Linked DNA regions of Homo sapiens: regions 1, 2 and 4 are each linked to region 3. The links are contacts of gene promoters, found by promoter capture Hi-C in blood cells and fetal thymus (Javierre and others, 2016). All regions are on one chromosome and are shown on one strand. The core of a region is centred on a gene start or on the middle of the fragment in contact, and the rest is flanking DNA. Distances in the headings are between cores, read along the strand shown. Region 1 overlaps MBP (myelin basic protein). Region 2 holds the start of MBP (myelin basic protein). Region 3 holds the start of ZNF516 (zinc finger protein 516). Region 4 overlaps MBP (myelin basic protein).

Region 1 (3,059 bases), core at 182-2,681, 620 kb before region 3:
AAGTCAAGGCGTTGGCAGAGTGGGAGCTCTGCAGGAGGCTCTGTCTTCACCTCTTCCAGCTTCTGGTGGCTGCGGCAATCCCTGGTGTCCCTGGCCTTGTAGCCATGTCATTCCAAATCTCTGCCTCCATTGTCATGTGGTGTTTCTCCCTGTGTGAAATGCCGTGTATCTATGTCCAAAATTCCCTCTCCTTGACCAGGCACAGTGCTGCATGCCTCTAATCCCAGCATTTTGGGAGGCTGAGATGGGTGGATCACCTAAGGTCAGGAGTTCGAGACCAGCCTGGCCAACATGGTGAAACCCCCATCTCTACTAAAAATACAAAAAATTAGCCAGGTGTGGTGGCGGACACCTGTAATCCCAGCTACTCTGGAGTCTGAGGCAGGAGATTGCTTGAACCCGGGAGGCGGAGGTGGCAGTGAGCTGAGATCGCACCATCGCACTCCAGCCTCGGCAACAAGAGTGAAACTCTGTCTCAAAAAAAAAAATCCCTCTCCTTTCTCTTGTAAGAACATCAGTCATTGCATTTAGAGCCCACTGTAATCCAGGATGACCTCATCTTAACTTGAGGACATCTACAAAACCTTCCTTCCAAATCAGGCCACCTTCACAGGTCCTGGGGTCAGGACTTGGACATACCTTTTAGGCAGACACGATCCACCACATACTATCCTGGAAGAGTTTCTCGACCTGCACGGTCAGGGTTCGTGGCCACCCACGTGCTCCTAGGCGTTCTCCACACACATGCCTCCCCTGCAAACAGCCGGCCCCTGTCCTGGCCGCCCGTCTCTCTCCCGGCCTTCCATGTGGCAGCAGCCTCGAGCTTGTGGGTGGGACAGAGTCCACAGGGAGCTGGAAACAGAGAAGGGGGAGGGGGAGGGAGATGAGGAAGAGAGGGATCTGACCCTCCTCCATAGGAAAACCTCAGCTTCCCCTTTGCACCGATGTTGGAAAAAACTTCTGCATCTCCCTCCCCGTTATGCACGAGGGCTGGGAAAGCCGGCGCACCCAGCGTCAGTGGCGTTCTCCTCATGTTCGGTTTGCCATCGTGATGAACACGCAATCAGGACATGTCCGACCTCCCGCAGGTGTGTGTGGAAGGTGGGAACGGGATGACGGAAGGAGTGTGCAGCGCGCATCCCACAGCTTTGCCGCCACCCGCCTGGGTGAAACCAAACGCGTCTTCTTCCCACGCCTTGTCCTCAGCTCCGAAATGAGCTGTTTCTTTTTGCCGCGCGCGCACGTGTGTGTGTGTGTGTGTGTGCGTGTGCACGGTGTTCATTCTACGGGTTTTTGGTGACGTTGGTAGCTGTGTACTATGCTCCGAACACAGAGTGTTACAATCATACTTTTGGTTTGAGAAATAAAAATGATTGCTTGCAGAACACAGTCTTCAGTGCTTGGGTATTGGTAGAATAAGAGGAAGAGGAATGGAGGGAGGGACGTCGGGGGAGAGAGAAAGGAGACAAGGATAGTGAAAGAAGAGAAGTCCCGTCACTTGGTTTCATTTATTTTCTTTCAGATATCTTTGGTTTTATTTTATATATGAGTTGCTTGTTCTTTGAAATTTGTTCTCCAGGATTTCTTTTTCAAATGTCAAAGAAGCAGAGTTATAGGGCCTGCCCCTCCGACTTGAGGCTGTCACTGTCCGTGTTCTAGGGGTGAGGGGCTGTTTTCTCTCTGCAGGGAGGGTGGGCGGTGTCTACAGCTCTTACTGAGCCTGCCAAGCCAGGGCGTGGTCTCCCAAGCAGTTACCAACGGCTGAGGAGATCACCAGGTCTCAGCATGTTGGTGGTGGCCCTGGTGAATCCCGCCCTGGGTGCTGGAGAGGAGGCAGAGGCCTCACAAGACCGAGTGGACCTGCCCAGGGCTCACACGACACCAGGGCCCTCCCGTGGGGGTCTCCTTCCTGCAGCCCACAGCCTTCTGCTGCTGCCCCTGCCTGGCCTTTAGCGTCTCTACAAAGGGGCACGACAATCCTCTGGAATTTCCACAGTTCCACTGTTTATTCAGGTTTTCCTTTCCTGGGATACTGGGTCTGCACCTCTCTCTACCTGAATTCTACATGGTATCTCCTTTATTATTTTGCACACAGTTGAGGGGTCAGAGAAGCCTTTTCTGATGTGTGCAGATCCACAGTAGCGTTTCCCTTAGTTGCCTTCTTCAAGAAGCTGTAGTCATGGCACCTCCAAAATACAGAACCGTGCCCATGAGCACTGGGCTCCTCGGTGGATGCTGGGTGATGCTGTGTTTCATCTGACGGACCCACAGAGTCGTGTCTTCAGCGTGTATTTATGGAGCTTTTCCTCCCAGGCAAACATTGCCAGGCTTTCTGAACAGGCGCTGAGAACCCCGAGACCCAGCGAGAGGTCTAGCACAGGACTGGAGCAGCCACGAGGCAATACAGCCAGCTCAGCTTTAAGGTCCCGTACACCGCGAAGACTCCAAAGCACCTGGGATGTCGAAAACATTGCTCCTGGGATTTTAAAAAGCAGAGAAAGCAGAAAAAGATGCCTTCATGGTGGGCTCTTCAAATTCTACTAGCAGAGGCACAAGTTAAGACTTTCCCAAGTGGATCCTGCTGGTTAGATTTTATTAAATTAACCACAATTTATATGTTTTATAATATATTCTCATGTGTCTGTTTAGGTATAACATGTTACAGTTTCCAAATACAGAAAAAAAAATCTTATCTAATTTATCTGATGCCTAGGGAAGTGGTCTTAGAACAAAAGTTCCATACACACTTATGGAATGGAGAAAGGCCCCTTGTCCGGCGGTGACCAGCAACAGCTGCAAGGGCTGCTGGGAAATGTAGTCCCTGCCAGGGCAGCCAGGTGGCCAGTGCAAGGCAGGTGGTGTGGGGAGAGGGGCAGTTCTCTCACTACATGGAGAAGGGAAGGTGGGGGACTGGGGAGAAGGTCCTTGTGACACAAGCATGGGAAATCTCTATTCTGAAAAAAAAAAAAAAATTCACATATGTCATAGGTTTTTGCCCCCTGATCTATAAGAAGAAGGTTCTCGAACACAAATCACCTGTAGTGCTTCTGAAAGCAAAG
Region 2 (3,209 bases), core at 465-2,964, 640 kb before region 3:
CTCTATCCCAACAAAATATGCACGGTGAAATTTCATAAATACTTTAAAAAGACTTTTAACTGGAACTTGTGGAGCCTGACATTTGTAGGGCTGACTGTTGGCATATGTAGTGTTTCAGGAAACCACTGTAACACCAGCAGAAGGAGCACCAAACAGAAGGCCGCGTGTGCAGCTGTCACTGTGGCCTGAGGGACGCTCCAGAGCCCAGCACACAGGGACATCTGCAGGCAGGAAGGTGGCCCCGCCCTGTGGAGTCACTGAGATAAAGCCAAGAGATATTTTGGGGAGGAAAAGCTGTTTCTGATGCTAAAGCAGGTATCTAAAATGGGACCCATTTTAGTGTTCCAGCTTCCCCAGCCTGAGCTTTGAGTGACTTGAGCTGGGACCTGGGTGCACCCGGGTTCATTGTCACCACCCGTGCTCCTAGGGCAGCTGTCCAGCCTCCCACGCCCACTCCGCTCATCCTTGACTTAAAGTGAGGTTGTGGGGCAGAAAAATTGGAGAAACACACTATCTTTGGCACCCTTTTCCCTCCTCACCTTCAGCCTCAAAGTCTCAGAACCCTCCTGCCCCCTCCACTTGAAAATCTCTCCTGAGGAAACGACCAGACTGAATGCTTTTGCGTCGTTGTGGAAGTATTTCTCTTCCAGTTGCCAGCATTTGAAGACAGTTGCTAAATCCTCCGGGGCTTTGGGGGAGGCTGGTTTTAGGCCGAAACCCCGACCCCGTGCTGAAGTCTGAGTCCCGCCTCCCAGCGCGGGCCGGGACAGCGCTCACCCCTCTCCCTCACTTCCTAACAAACTGTGTGGGTCCCAGGCTGCTCCAGGTCCCCTGGAAGCTCCAGATCCAGATCCCTGACTGGGGGTGTAGGTCAGGAGGAACGCGGGGCCTCATTCTGGGACTCCCCCAACCTCCTCCTCTTCCACCATCAGGAGGCTGAGAATCCAGAGAAAGATCTCTGACCACTAAATCTGTGTGCAGGTGAGTCACGGCTAAACAGCAGGCTTTTTCTTTTTAACAAGACAGCGACGAAGACCACGATGTCTCTGGGCTGCAGGACCAGGCTGCTTCCTCGCACCTGCGCGTGTTTTGCTGTCTTTTCCGCGCACGCTTCCTGCGCCGGTCCTGCAGGAGAAGGTGCGCCCCTAGCTCCCAGCTCCCAGCTCCCAGCTCCCAGAGGAGCACCTGCCAGCCGGACATGGGCCTGGCCTGGGCTCCAGGGGAGGGAGGGAGTGCCTTGGGAGGACCTGCCGGCTCCTTTCGCCTCCAGGCCGGGCTGACTCTCCTCCTGCAGGGCCGGGGCTGCGCCAAGTCTATCGGCAGTTTCTGGGGTTTCCAGCCCCTGAGGACGCGGGGAGATGCGGCCTGGCACCCCTCCCGCGAGGTCGAGGTCGGGGTCGGGGTGGGTTCGGAGGCCAAGCCTCCGAACGGGAAGGGTCGACGGGCCGCAGTTCGGAGCCCAGTTCGGCAGCGGGCGAGGCTCCAGGCCGCCCCTCCGAGGTCTGACCCTGCGCGTGGGCCCCGTGCGCCCCCCAAGTTCCGCGTGGGCAGAGCGGGCCCGGGGTCCTCCGAGCTCCCGGGGCGGCGCCGGCGGCCGCGTCCAGGTGGGGCGGGCCCGGCGGGATCGGCCTGTGTTTACCTGGCTCGCAGGAAGCCCGGGGAGGCGGGGCCGGGGAGCTGGGTGCGCGCCCGTCCCTCGGAGCCGCCGCCGTCAGTCACCGCCGCCGCGCGCCAGAGAGAAGCAGCCTCCGGCCCCGGCGGCCCCTGTCTCCCGACCCCGGAAGGCGAAGCAGGCTGCCCGGGGACCCCGCGCGTGGGCGCTTGAAGCCGAGACCAGCCTGCCCGGGCCTGGGCAGGCGGAGCAGGGCCTTGGACCCCGCGGCGCCCCTCGGCCTCGGAGCAACGAGCGCAGCGCCGGTGGGTGACCCTCGGGGACGGGCGGGCTGCTCTGCCGCCTTTGTCTCTGTGCCCCTCCGAGTGGGGACCGCGGAGACCTGGGCGGGACCCCGGACCGGAGCCCCGCGGGAGCCGGGGGCGCAAGATCGGGGACAGGAGCTATCCCGACGCCCGGACTCCGGGTCCCTTTCTTGGCTGGGGACGCGCAGGGAGAACCTAGGCAGCGGAGCAGGTGGCCGAGCAGGTAGCAGCCGGCGGCCTCCCTGACCCGAACCCAAGTCGCCGCCCCCGATCCCCATTGCGCGGGGGCTGGGCGCGGGTGTAGACGCGGGTTTACAGCGCCGGGGCCCGACCCTGACAGGTGTCCAGGGGTGGACTCCAGCCAGGCCCGGCGGTCCCAGGGTCGCTGAAACCGCTCGGCCTCGGGCCGTGGGGCTGAGGGGAGGAGTCTAGGGTGGGAGGGGACGGCGGTCAAAAGCGGCCACTCTGGGCGGGTGTGGAGAGGGTGCTGGCTGCCAGGGCGGGCTGGGGGGTCCTCCCGGCTCGCGGCGCCTGCTAATCACACCCCGGGGGCCCCGCGCGCGATCGCGCTCCTGCCCCTGCCCCCGGGGCGAAGCGCAGTCTCCCTCTGAGCTCCAGGGGCGGCCAGGAGAGCCCGGGTCCGGGCTTCCGCCTTCGCAGGGCCTGTCTCGGGCTCTTCGGCCGGGCCCGTCGCTGCGCCCACCTGGGCCCACGTGCGCCGCCCGCAGCCGCCCGCCGGCCCGCCCGGGTCTTCCCGGCAGTCCCCTCCTGGGCCCCACTGCCTGTCCTGGGCCGGGTGCGTCCGTTTTCCGTGGCCCCCGAGGCCGGGGTGTGTGACCTGCGGTCATTTGCCGCCACACTAGATTTTCCGGGGTGCTGGGGGCAGCGCCTTGTGTCCTTTCGCGTCCACCTGAGCCCCCCCGTTTTGGAAGGTGGAGTGGGGCTTGGGAAAAGGTTCAAGCGTCTTTGGGGACCCCCGTGCGACTCTGGCTGGAAACAGGCGAGCTCTGGTTCCTTGTTCCGTTTTCCAATTGCAACAACGTGAGAATCAACAAGTGCTCGGTTTCTCTGCGCGTGGGTGAGGGGCGCGTGGGCTCGCTGGGTGCTGGGGTGGGGAGGGGGCGTGGACTTCGTTCCGGGGAGGCCTCTGCCTCGTCTGACCACAGAACGCCCCGCCTGGAAAGAGAGTTTTTCAGAGGAAGGAAACGTCAGGGAACTCCAGTGTGTGTTTTGGACATTTTATCTGGCGAAGCTCCGGGGGACAGTTTAAGGACGGTCACCCTCAAGTCAGG
Region 3 (3,159 bases), core at 269-2,768:
CCACTTAGGCATTCATGCTGAAGCCAGCAACAATTGTCCGTGACCTTTAACATGCCCGCTCTCCAAATCAGTGCAGGTCGTTAGTCACACGGAGCTTACATTTGAGGACTCGCGGATCCTTCATAGCGGAGGTTGTCCCTGTCTTTCTGCCTGACTCCCCCCCGCCCCCCGACCCCGACACACACTCCCCACCGCCCCCAGAAACATCACACATGCAGAATGCCCCCCCCGTCTGATCGCCAGCTTTCGGGCACATGCGCCTCCCTTTGCAGCGCGTCTGGAGTAGTTTCTTTTGTAAACGCCCTAAGTTGGGGAGGGCCGCGGGCTGCGAGTGTGAGGCGCAGAGAGAGACGCCGCCGCTGAGGTAACCGCCAGGATTGCAGCGCTGATTGCTACGCGGAGCCACGTTGGGCGTCTTGGACGGAATCCACCTCCACTGCGGAGTTATCACGAGGAGAAGGAGAACAATACGGCCAGGAGCCTGGTGGGAGAAGATAGTGTTACCCCTCCGCAGGCCGCAGCTCCCCGGGTCTACGTCACCGGCCGTGAAGGGGCGCTCGCCCTCGCTAGCTCCGACCCGCCCCTCCCCCGCCCCCGCGCGCCCGCCCTCCCCTCCCCCACCCCGGCCATCCCTGCCCTGTAACAGGAGAGCGTTTTGGAGTCAAATTAGGATTTCTAGTCCCAGACTCAACTTATTACAACTAACTACTGCTCGTGGGGAGTAGGTGAGGTGAAGAAATGAAGTTTTAAGAACAGAAAAATAAGAGTTGAACTTTCGAGGCTACCGGTAAACAACCCCTTCATTTTTAAATGGCCGGGTGGCAGAGCCGCTGTTTGAAGTCTTTCCAGCGGGACCTCTGTGACCCTTGATTCAGGACTTAATGTATTGATCCTGCATCTGAACACCCCCAGAGGCATTTACCAGGAAGTTGAGTGACACGCACACGCTACGCCGTGTGTAATGCACACGCACCTGGGACCCCCGAAGGGGTGTCCCCATTTCAGTCCAGATGGGGCGCAGTGCCCAGGTACCCGCCGGCGGGACCCGCATCCCGAGCACGTCTGTACGTATGGATGCGCGTGTGCGCGCGGAAACGGCCTCCGGGAGCCGGGGCTGCAGCAGCCTTAGACCTTGACGAGGGGCGACCACTGGCCGCTGGAACCGTGATTCAGTGCTATTAGGGGAGGAATTGGCTGTGTCTGAGTCACTGCAAGCCTCCAGACTGTCCCCTCAGTGTGGCAGAACTTTGTGCTGATGAGACAATAGTGGAGTGTGCGTTTCCTACAGGGCAGACCATTTCCAGGCTGGGGGAAGCCTCCGGCCTGCGCCGGGCCGTGAGCGCCCGGCCCCCTCCCCGTGCCGCGCAGCCCCCCGAGCCCGGCTCGCGCCGGGGCCCCCGCGGGGCGGACGCGTCCGGGGCGCGCGCGGGCGGCGCGAGGAGGGGGCCGGGCGCGTGGCGGGCCCCGCGCGCCCTCGCGCGTCCCCCGCGCCCGGGCGCAGCTGGCGCGGTCGGTCTAGTGCAGCGCTCGGCTCCGCGCCGCGGGCGCTCGGCTTCACCTTCAGATGCGCGGGGCGTGCGCGTCCTCCTCCCCAGGCCCGCCGCCTCCCTGCCAAGGTAGGGGCCGCGGGCGGGGGGAGGGCTGCGCCGCAGGGGCCGCGGGCGGGCGGTGGGCGCGGGGCCCGGAGCCCCGACGTGCCCCGTACTCTGGTGTGCGCCGCTGGGGGTAGGGGGGGAGGCGCTGGGGAGGGGGGTGCGCCGGGGAGGGGCCCCCCGGGCGCGGGGAGGGCTACTTGGCTTTCCCGGTGGGTAGTTGCTCTGCTCGTCAATTCCAGGATAGGGGAAGATGCAACTTCGGGCGGCGGGGCGAGCGCCCGGGAGGTGGTTTTTACCGCAGTGGAGGGGCGGGGTGGGGGCCGGGGTGGGAGCGCGGAAGAGGCTCTGGCTTTGTACACTTTGTCAAAGGCGACGCGGGAGGAGGGGAGCTCGGATGCGCTCTCCATCCATTAGGAGACAAAGAGCAAATTGCCTTACTTTAAAGTAAAACGCTCCGGCTAATGAAGGTGGGTGATGGGGCTGCGGGCCCGAGGAGCCGCTTCAATTATTAAGGGTTTGGCGGATGGGATCGATGCCTGTGGGCACCGCGCGCTGCTGCCTAGGGGACGTGTTTGCGTGGAGGTGGGGGTGGCCTTGTTTTTTACGGCCCCCTCCCCGGCTGCTTGCCAGTCTGCTGGGAGCTTCTAAGTGACCCTAACGTTAAAGAAGTGAGAGGTCCTGGAAGGGAAGTTCGGGCGGGGGTGGGGGTGGGGGCGAGGGTCTGGCACCGACTCGGAGAGGGGTGGGCAGGGACTCCTCGGAGCTGCGCCCCGCCGGGTGCGGGTGGGGGAGGCCTCGGTGGCGAGATGAACCCGGGTGTATGAAGGAAGAATGCGGTGGGGTGTGTGTGGTTGGGCGGGAGGTGGGGGGAGGCGCCTCCGCTGCCATTTCCAGGGAGAACTAACAGACTGAATAGTTACGATCAGTATTTAGATTAAACCGCCTCAAGTTTTAACGAAACTTTGTATGAATAAGTTTGTTAAATGGCAGCCGAGTGGGGTATTTAAAAGCAGCAGTTTATGTGTGTGGTGAGGAAAGCCAGTGGACCCCCGCAATTAGGGACCAGAGGGAACCAGCCTTTTACCCGAAAAATGTGGGTCTGTAAGTCAGCCTCATCTATTATCAGCGTTAATAAGCTTCCCGCAGCAGACCGGGAGCTCTGGGGGCTGTGTGTGTGTCTTACTCATTCCGCTGATAAAGAGTCACCGGGTCTCCGGGTGTGCAAAGATCAACTTGCGCAGCCCTCTTTTTAAATATATTCATTCTGTGCTTTATTTAATCCAGATGCACAAAAAGCCATTTGCTGCTGCATTGTTGGTTTACATTTTTTGAAAAGGCGACTGGTGTAACCTGTGGAATTTGAAATGCAAATAAGAGCCTGTGGGAGTAGAGGCAGAACAGATCAGCATTTATAAAGTGGAAAAGATTTAATGTCTTTGAAATCATTGCAGGGGAAGAAACTGGAGGGGGAGTGTGATTTTTCAGGGAGTGAATTGTGACGTCAGGTCTTTTTGGAAAAGATGTTATTTTTAAGGTCTGAAACCCGGCTAGGTAAAGTGCTTAC
Region 4 (3,052 bases), core at 553-3,052, 570 kb before region 3:
CTGCCATCACTATTCAGGGTCCACCTGTGGCCGCTTTGGTGTGAGGGATAAACAGAGTGGACGCACCATAGCTGTGGGACCAACGTGTGCACAAGCTGGCGCACAGGACACAAAATTCCTCCTCATGCTTATGCTGCCCCCACCCTCGAAACCAGCCTGGGAAGTGGATACAGGGAAGTGGCTGCCGCTAGGTTATCCCCCGCCACGCACTTAAAGCAAAGTGCTGTGATTTAAAGATCAGCTTTCACTCTGCATCTGAAACGCCTCATTTCTAAGATGCGGCATTGTTCTACTCTCCGGTGAGAAGGGCTTCCCACGCCAATGGGAGGACACTACTGGTCCTAGTGGTGTCCCGCTTGGAGAGACATTAAGCATGAAGAAAATGCATCTATGATCAATAACGACGGTAGCTGAATCGTACTTAATTAGTTCTTAAATAACACTTATTATTTTGTAATTAGTGAAGAATATGATCTCCTATTAGCATAGAAGCAGGATGTAAAAAAATATGACATGAATTCCTAGCTGAGGAAAGACTATCGGGAAATTATTTATTTTCCAAGTTTTAGTGTCTTCTGAAATTAACTGGATAGATATGAAAAGTGTACATAGCCAGCTATCTTTGGCTCCCTCTGCTGAAACAGAAACAATCCATTTTAACTATGTTTAAAAAGCTCTCTCTGGGCGCCAGGCACTGTGCTAGGCCTGAGGGTTGGGAAGGTGTGTAAGGCACTGTTCTTGTTCTCACAGTATTCACCGCATCACAGGGAGGGGAATAAAACAATGGACTGTTCTGGGAGTTTCTGTAATAGAGACACAGGAAAATCCGCAGAAGTCACAGGCTGCTGGGAGCCTGGAAGCCATGGGGGTGAGGTCAGAGGCCCCGAGGTGAGGTCAGAGTCCCCGAGGTGAGGCCCCCAAGGCTCAGCTCCGTGGTGGCGGCTGCTGCTCTTTGTCCTCCCAAAGAGGCTGAGAGTGTTTATTCCAGTCCCAGGAAAGTTTCCCTCCCACCACATCTCTAGCAATGCCAGACATCAGTTTGTTTTCTACTTGTGTTAAAAAGAAATCTCATTTTTGTTTCGCTCTGTATTTCTCTGATTACTAGTGAGTTTGAACATTCTCTGCATTTCATTGCTTATTAGTAACTGTTTCGTGGGACTCTGTGACTCGCAATCTGGAAAGCAGCAGCTTGGTTTCTACAGCGGCCAACCAGCAACAGAAGCCTGGCAGGTGTACACAAAGTTACAACAAATGTGAACACCTTAATTGGCTGCTATTTGTCATTCTAGAATCAGGCAACACCTCTTTCTGCAAAACAGAATGAGTGCTCCAATGAGCCGAGCAGAGGAGGTTGGTTTATAAACAGACTGAGGAAAGCAGACACAGAGAACAAAATGCAGGCGGATGTGTGGTGGTTCCAAGATGACTTCCCCATAAAGGTTAAAGCAGACGGGACTTCCTCGTCATCTGGGCTAAACCTGGCCTGCTTGGAAGTTGGGCTGTTACCTCTCCTGATTGCTCAGAAGGTCAAATAAAGATCTTCATTTGGGCTTGGTACCATACTTCATACGGGGGCGTCTGCTGGGCCCAGTGCAGGAGCTCAGTCCAAACCAGTGTCCTCTTATCAATTTAATTTCACAACGTGAAGGCAAATTCTTCCCTCCTCAATTTTGTGAGTCCAATAACCCGTGTGTTTTTTATCTGTTAATCACACCAGACAGCATTGAATTGTAGAAACAATGCCGTAAACATTGGTTGGTGGGGACCTTACCCACCCATCCCCTCCTGTCTGCCCAGGGATGGGAATGGATACACACACACACAAACACACACACACACACACACACGGGATGGAGGGTTTCCAGATAGGGCTCTTAGTGACCAGGAGGCGGAGTGTAGGGCCCTGGCTGGTGTGAGCTCAGAGGGCTGGACTTCTCTCCAGGAACAAACAGCCTGCAGTACATAAGTGAGTCACACTAGGTCTGAATCAGACTTCAGGGTGGTCTTAATGGCTGTGCCTGCCCCTCTCTCCAGAAGGAAAAGAATGTAAAATTGAGACTATGTACATATTATGGTCCTGGGTTAAAGGCTCCCAGGAAATGAGAGATTGGGTGGAAAATTGGTACAAACTTAAGTGCAGAGACCAGGGTGGGGCGCTGCAGGGAGTGGCACCCGAGAGAAGCAGCCTCCCGGTGCTGCTGGTGGGTAGCACCAGGGCCAGCGCGGCTGCCCACAGCACTGACGCCCGCTCAGTGAAAGCTCCAGTGTGACTCATTCCTCCTCCAGAAATACTCCTTGGCCATGTGCATTCTGAGAAGTGAACAGGAAATTAGTGCAACACGGTTAGGGTTGAAAAACACAAATGTGAACAAGCTGGATGGTGGTTGTGGAGCCTGGTGAGGTGTGAACAGTAACTGAAATGCTAGCGGGCTGTGCAAGCAGTCTGTGCGTGCCGACATGACGTCACCTCCAGGATCCCTCTTTCCCTGGCAAAAGCAAGAAGGAGCATATCATCCACAGTGTGATGCCATTTATGTGAAGACAGAAAGGAGGGAAAAGAATACCCATGTGTCATTGTCTGAAGGTGCCCAGATGATTGTGCAAAGTCTGGAAGGAGCTGGAAATGCCAGCTGCCTCCCAGAAGGGGGCGGGGGGGCATCCAGGAGACCCCGGGGTTTCAGCACGCAGCCACTGTGCACTTTCTAGAGCATTTGAATCATTCAATGTGCAAGTGTGACATTTCAAAATAGTTAAGTAAAATTGATTACAAATATATCAGGAAGCTGAACCATGTCTTCTCTCTGCACTGGTGATCAAACTATGTACTGAAAACTTTAAACTCGAAAAACAAGCTCACACTGCCATTCGGGCCCCAAACGACAGGCAAAGGGAGGCCCAGAGGAGAAACTCTGAAGCCGAAGATTCCCAGAGGAGTGGCCAGGGGGCCTGGCCCACCCCATAACACCACAACAGGCCGCTTCCTCCCCTGGAATGCAAAAGTGCCTCCGGACATCAGCTTCGTTTTCTGTCCCTAAAAGGACTCATTCTCCCA

What was found. Contacts are between HindIII fragments. The CHiCAGO score rates a contact against its expected background, and 5 or more counts as called.
Region 1: a fragment that was not itself captured here is called in contact with the fragment with the promoter of ZNF516 in region 3 in 1 of 17 cell types (erythroblasts); the score reaches 6.6 in erythroblasts.
Region 2: a contact is called between the fragment with the promoter of MBP here and the fragment with the promoter of ZNF516 in region 3, in 1 of 17 cell types (monocytes). The highest score is 5.8, in monocytes.
Region 4: a fragment that was not itself captured here is called in contact with the fragment with the promoter of ZNF516 in region 3 in 3 of 17 cell types (monocytes, neutrophils and total B cells); the score reaches 9.6 in monocytes.

Annotation. Positions count from the first base shown.
Region 1 is chr18:77,110,375-77,113,433 of GRCh38, reverse strand. All of the region lies in intron 1 of MBP (myelin basic protein), which reads left to right. Among named protein-coding and RNA genes, the nearest start is that of MBP, 21 kb to the left of the region's middle. RefSeq lists enhancers at 1,020-1,521, 1,522-2,023. The HindIII fragment of the contact is 3,851 bases long and covers 1-3,059 here.
Region 2 is chr18:77,131,288-77,134,496 of GRCh38, reverse strand. It overlaps MBP (myelin basic protein), which reads left to right and starts at 1,714. Exons shown (of 9, transcript NM_001025101.2): 1 at 1,714-1,917. RefSeq lists a silencer at 1,450-2,749. The HindIII fragment of the contact is 15,459 bases long and covers 1-3,209 here.
Region 3 is chr18:76,493,601-76,496,759 of GRCh38, reverse strand. It overlaps ZNF516 (zinc finger protein 516), which reads left to right and starts at 1,518. Exons shown (of 7, transcript NM_014643.4): 1 at 1,518-1,616. It overlaps ZNF516-DT (ZNF516 divergent transcript), which reads right to left and starts at 1,421. Exons shown (of 2, transcript NR_164145.1): 1 at 974-1,421; 2 at 1-481. It overlaps ZNF516-AS1 (ZNF516 antisense RNA 1), which reads right to left. Exons shown (of 2, transcript NR_136504.1): 2 at 2,842-3,159. RefSeq lists silencers at 1,409-1,468, 1,599-1,698, 2,399-2,488. The HindIII fragment of the contact is 7,170 bases long and covers 1-2,733 here.
Region 4 is chr18:77,066,812-77,069,863 of GRCh38, reverse strand. All of the region lies in intron 2 of MBP (myelin basic protein), which reads left to right. Among named protein-coding and RNA genes, the nearest start is that of MBP, 64 kb to the left of the region's middle. RefSeq lists an enhancer at 2,451-2,540. The HindIII fragment of the contact is 5,207 bases long and covers 1-3,052 here.